Linked DNA regions of Homo sapiens: region 1 is linked to region 2. The links are contacts of gene promoters, found by promoter capture Hi-C in human tissues and cell types (Jung and others, 2019). All regions are on one chromosome and are shown on one strand. Each heading gives the region's core, a stretch centred on a gene start or on the middle of the fragment in contact. The rest is flanking DNA. Distances are from core to core; before and after follow the strand shown. Region 1 overlaps L3MBTL4 (L3MBTL histone methyl-lysine binding protein 4). Region 2 holds the start of TMEM200C (transmembrane protein 200C).

Region 1 (2,700 bases), core at 115-2,614, 100 kb before region 2:
TCTCCAAATTGTCTCTGTGCTCTTTGCTCCCTCTCTTTTTTCCTTCAGAAACTCCTGCAATGTGTATATTGGTCTGCTTATGCTGTCCTACAGATCCCTTAGACTCTTCACTTTTCTTTAATCTTACTGCTTTATATTCCTCATACTCAATTTCAATTGTCTTATCTTCAAATTCACTAATTCTTACTTCTACTCAAATCTGCTTTAGTATCCCTCTAGTGAATTTTTCATTCTAGTTATTTTTCTGTTGATTTTTTTCCTTTGAGTGGGTCATACTTTCCTGTTTTCATATACCACGTATTTTTTTGTTGTTGAAACTGACCATTTGAATCTCATAATATAGTATCTCTATTAATCAGATTCCCCGCCTTCCCCAGGGTTTGCTGCTTCTGATTTTGGTTTTTGTTTGTTTGGGGTTTTTTAATTGTTTTATGGTAGCTCCATGCCAGACATCAGCATGAGGTGTAAACTTAAGGTCTTCTCAGGTCATTTCTGAGCCCACTGCTTTCCTTGGTCGTGCATGGTGACTTACTAAATTCCCTTGTATATGTTATTGCTTTTAAATGTGCTAATCCTTAAATGTTTGGCTCCCCAGAAGGGGAAAACTGGACGGAAATTTTTTTAAGGCAATTATCTTCACATACCCTGGAAGCCACTTTAGGCAATGGGGATTGCTATAAAGGCCTCTGGCCTGCACCTTCATAGTCAGTTATGAGGACACAGATCCTCAATATTTGGAGGACAAGGTACTTATTGCCCACCCTGGTTCTTGAAAGCCACATGCAAGTTGCACCCAGATTGTTGGCACAGCTGCCTGCCACAGGGCTGGAGGATGGGAAGTGAGTAGTTGCTACTGTTCTAAGAGCTGAAATTGACCAAAATTAGCCATGATTTACCACCATCTAAGCTGACCTCCGGAAGCTGCAAGACTCCAGAGATCCAAAATAGTTCTATCAGTCAGATTCTGCCAGTGCAATTGTTGTCTAGGCAGAGAGACAGATTCCTGGCACTTCCTACCCACCATCTTCCCTAACATCACTCCTGTCCTTTGTTTTTGAAAGTTTTGAGACAATATGTGATGCTTGACTGGATGCTGTAATGAGTGTTTATCTTTAAGCTCCAAAAACTTTACTAAGATAGGTCTTGTTATTGCATTCCAATTCACTGAATGTGGCACATGGTATGCCCTTATGATATATAGATTCAAGTACATTCACATATATAGATTTAGGAAAGGGTTGTTTTTATTATATATTTAAATATTTGCTCTGTTTCATTGTTTTGATTTTTCCTCAGACACACTAATTATGTATGTGTTGAATCACCTTCTCTAATGTTTTTTAAGTTCTTTTTAAATTTAAATTTCATTTTGCTTGACTTTCTCATTTTTATCTTTTATGAGTATAATCCTGACTCCGGGTTATGCAAGGTCCATTCTCCCTTTCTGCTCCTTCGAGTTCCATCTCTATTCCTGTAATGGTTTTATTTTTCTCCTCTACTTCTTTCTGGAGTTCTGCATTGCCTTTTATTGACTTGCTGTCTCTTCCTCGAATTGTCACATTTCTACTTTATTTTCTTCCTTCCTAGAGATAATTGCCTCACTAAGCTTTATTTTGTGTTTCCAAACATGTCAGAATGTCTGATCACTCTTTCATCTCCTCAGTGGCAATATTTTTATGGATACATTTTAAAAATTTAATAGATTTTACTGGTCTCATTCACATTTTTCTCATGGCATCTTTATAACAACACCATATCATTTTTTTTTCTTTTTCTTCTTTCTTTTTTCTGAGCTCACTCATTACTTAATGAGTTCAATTTTCCTGAACTAACTATTCACACACATCTATATTGACAGGAAATGAGGGCTAGGCTTTCCAACTAAAAGGTTTCTCTCTCTTGCCTGACACTGAGACAGAGTGCTTCCTGCAAACATGGCTCCTCTGGACTATTCTCTGTGTAGCCCTGAAAACTCTAACTCCTTGAACAAAACTAAGTCCAGTAGGGCTTCTTTTATACCAACCCTGCTCACCCAAGGTCCTGTCCCCATTTGTACAAGCAAGGAATGTGCCTTTGCATTCTGGCAGTGGCCACCCAGGAGATCGGCCACCACTCAGCCCTTCTTTTCTTCCCTTCCCCTGCATATCTTCTAGCCAATCACAGTTGCTTCTGGCCCTTTTTACAGATATATTGAATCTAGGGAATTTATCTGCCTTCTAGTTTCACTGAAAATGGAATTTATGGTGTTTCCTTTATTTTCTTCGTTGTTTGTTTTTGTATGATTCTAGGAGGATGAGGAGAAATGCTCACAGCCATATTCCTTGCTGATTAGCATGTTTAAAATGACTTTAATAGAAAAACATGTTCTTTTCTTTCATTCCATTCAACACATTTTTATGAAGCACAGCACACTCTGAGGAAGGTAGGGCGTGCTCAGAAGAAAGAGTGAGCCCTTCCTTGGTGGGGGCATAAAGGTGGAAACAGCTATTACAGTTACAGGGTAGCATAGGGTAAGTGCTGCTTTGCAACCTCAAACCAAGACATTTGGAAGAGGGAAACCAATTGATTCTCTTTGTGGGAATCAGACATTTTCAGGAGAAGATAGCATCTGAACTAGGCCATAAATAGTGGGTGGAATTTCAATAAATATAAATATGAGAAAAATGTTTCTGCTAGGCAGATTTGATAATCAAAAGCAGA
Region 2 (2,700 bases), core at 117-2,616:
TGTTCACATTTATATCATTGAACTTGTAAATTGGTTGTCTTTATTGTTCTTTTTGAAAAGTGTCTGCTCTAGATTTAAGCACAAGTGAATGCTGTGTATGTGGGGAACAATCTTGTAACAGGAGCTGCGGGCAGCAGAGCCCTCCTGTGTGGGTTTTGTGGACCCCTAAGCAGCAAAACTCAGAATATATAACACCCACCACCACCAAAATATTTATCTGGATCCAAAATTTCAGACAGCACTTGCTTCATCTGCTCTTCTGTTCCTTTCTTCCTGAATCCTGGCTGCCTCATTTCAATAGATAAATGAAATCTTTCTCACTTTCTCAATACTCTTTGGGGAAATTCCACTTTGAAATTCTCTTTTCCCTGTCATTTTTACTTTACAGTTGAGAAGACAGGGATGAACTAGGAAACAGGATCTCGATCTCTTTCTCTCTCTCTCTCGCCTTCTCTCTTTTTTAAATGACGTAGGGAGTTTGGACATCCTCCCTACCCCCACCTCCCCTCTCTGATTCCAACCCTGATTCCTGATTCCTGGAGAATTATAGTTTTCCTTTTAATGCTTGCTGATTACCGCACCGGGGAGGAGCAGGAGGGGCTGCCCAAGGAAGAGCCCCGGAGCCCATTCTGATCTCCGAGGAGCCCCAGCTGCCGGGTCCCGGTCAGGCTGGTCACAAAGCCCGGCGGGGCTGGAGCGCGAGCGCATCTGGCAGAGGCTTCCAAGCGTCCCGCGGTGCGCCCGTCCCGGCGGGGGCGGCTCCACTCCGCCCGGGCCCGAGTTCGCTGGGGGACAACTTACTGTGCTTGCCGAGCGTCCACACTGCAAACTCCCAAGCGGGAGGGGGAAGAGAGCCCAGGCTGCGCCGTGCCGAGGAGTAGAGGCAACAAAAGACCGAGGCACGAGGGGAGGGAGGCAGGCACGGAGGGACCGCGGACTCTGGCCCCTAGCTCCCCGAGAGCGCCCCTCGGATGCTGCTGGGGAGACCCTCCGGGCCTCTCTTTGGGGCCTCTGGGGCCCGCGGCTCAGACAGGTAGTTGGAGGAAAGAAGAACAAAGCTGCCCGCGGAGGCAGGCGGCGGTCTCGGGGCGCCCCGGGGCGGGGAGAGCCGAGGCCGAGGAGGCACCCCGCGCCCCCTGCCCCGCGGCCCGAGCGCCCCGTGCCGGCTGCCTCCGCCGCCTCCCCTCACGCCTCCTCCTCCCCGAGGAATCGGCGCTTCCGAAGGGACGGGCGGCGGGCGGCGGAGGACGCGGGGGAGCGGGGAAGGCCGGCGGCGTGGGGGGGGGCGCCGGAGGAGGGGGTGGGGCGGGGGGCGGGGGCGGGGGCGCCCCCCGACTCCGCCGAGCCGGGCGGGCCCCGACCGCCACCCTGCCGCAATTTCCCTGTGTCATGGCTCCGGTCTCTTAGCAACAGCCGCCAGTCCGGCCGCCCCGAGCCGCCGCCGCGGGCTCAACTCCACCCGGCGGAGCCCGGCGCGCCGCAGCCACACAAAAGAGGCGCGAGGGCCGGCGGCGCGGCCGCAGGGGCCCGCCCGGGAGCGCCGCGCTAGGGGACGCCGGGAGCTGGAGGATGAGCGGCGGAGAGGAGGGCTCCGAGGCGGGATGCGGGATGCGGGATGCGGAGGACCTGACACTTCTTGGAAACTCTTGGAAATGGCTCCCGCCACAGCGCCGGCGGGGACTGCGAGCCTGGGGCGGGCGCTCGCCCCCGCGGGGCTGCTGAGTCGCGCTCGGATGCGGGGCCCCGGGGCGCTGTCCCTGCGCTCCGCCGTCGGCTCGGGCTGAAAAAGTTTCTCCATGGTTCCTTTGTGTCGCCCGAGCGCCCGTTCGCCGGCCCCGACCTCCCTCGGTCTCCCTGGGTAAGTGAGCGATCTTGCGTGCGGAGAGTGCTGCCATTTTGAGCAATTCTGCCAGTCCCCAGCCCTTGGGGGCCCCTCCCCGCCCCTCGGGTCCCCGAGTCCCCGCGCCCCGGGCTGGTGTTCGGTGAGAGGCTTTTTCCCGGGCTGGCTACACGGGATGCGCTGCCCAGAAAAAGCTAGTTCAGGATTGCCCTCACTTGGCTCCTGCCTGTCTTCTTTCCAGAGGCGGACTCCCAGCTGCTGCACTCATGTGACTCCAGCTAACATCAATAAGCAGACCAAAGCCAGGGGCCAGGGGGTCGCCGCCCTGCCAGTGAGGGGCCGGGGTCGAGGACCTGGGTTGGGTACCGGGCACAGCACAGCGCTCCCAGCCTGTGGGATCCGAGCCTCCGAGCCTCAGAGTGGGGCTTAATCCATCTTGAGCGGAGAACTTGAATGTCTCTCTTGGAAGCAGTTGTATTTTTAGACATCCCTCCTTTGCTTCCCCCATCCTCCATTCTTTAACCACGGTAAGACCAGCTCCAGGCAGTAAATTGCGAGGGCAGCCAAGCTTGACTGCTAAGTTTGTTTTCTTTCATTAGGTATAAAGGAAAACCTCAAAGGTGGGTCTCCCGTGGCATCTGACCTTTGTCTGTATTTCGTGTCAGATGATGATACATTAAAAGGGAGTACAGCCTTCAACAGAGCTGAAGGAATAATAAACGAGGGAGTTAATTACTAGCTATTAAACTCATTTTAAAGATGTGCGGTAAAGGACTGTTGAAATCCATTCCAACCTTCCTTACATTCTACCGGAGCCAAAGCTGCCTTGCTGAGGAGAAATCCAAGTGGGTTTCCTCCTC

Evidence for each region. Contacts are between HindIII fragments. The study calls those that stand out against the background at their distance.
Region 1: a contact is called between a fragment that was not itself captured here and the fragment with the promoter of TMEM200C in region 2, in 3 of the 25 tissues and cell types used here (H1 embryonic stem cells, mesendoderm cells and thymus).

The regions. Positions count from the first base shown.
Region 1 is chr18:5,999,182-6,001,881 of GRCh38, reverse strand. The region is part of intron 16 of L3MBTL4 (L3MBTL histone methyl-lysine binding protein 4); the gene reads left to right. Among named protein-coding and RNA genes, the nearest start is that of TMEM200C, 110 kb to the right of the region's middle. The HindIII fragment of the contact is 4,141 bases long and covers 1-2,700 here.
Region 2 is chr18:5,894,188-5,896,887 of GRCh38, reverse strand. It overlaps TMEM200C (transmembrane protein 200C), which reads left to right and starts at 1,366. Exons shown (of 2, transcript NM_001395400.1): 1 at 1,366-1,858. The region is part of intron 9 of MIR3976HG (MIR3976 host gene); the gene reads right to left. It overlaps LOC121725015 (a long non-coding RNA gene), which reads right to left and starts at 1,161. Exons shown (of 3, transcript NR_172505.1): 1 at 802-1,161. The HindIII fragment of the contact is 12,914 bases long and covers 1-2,700 here.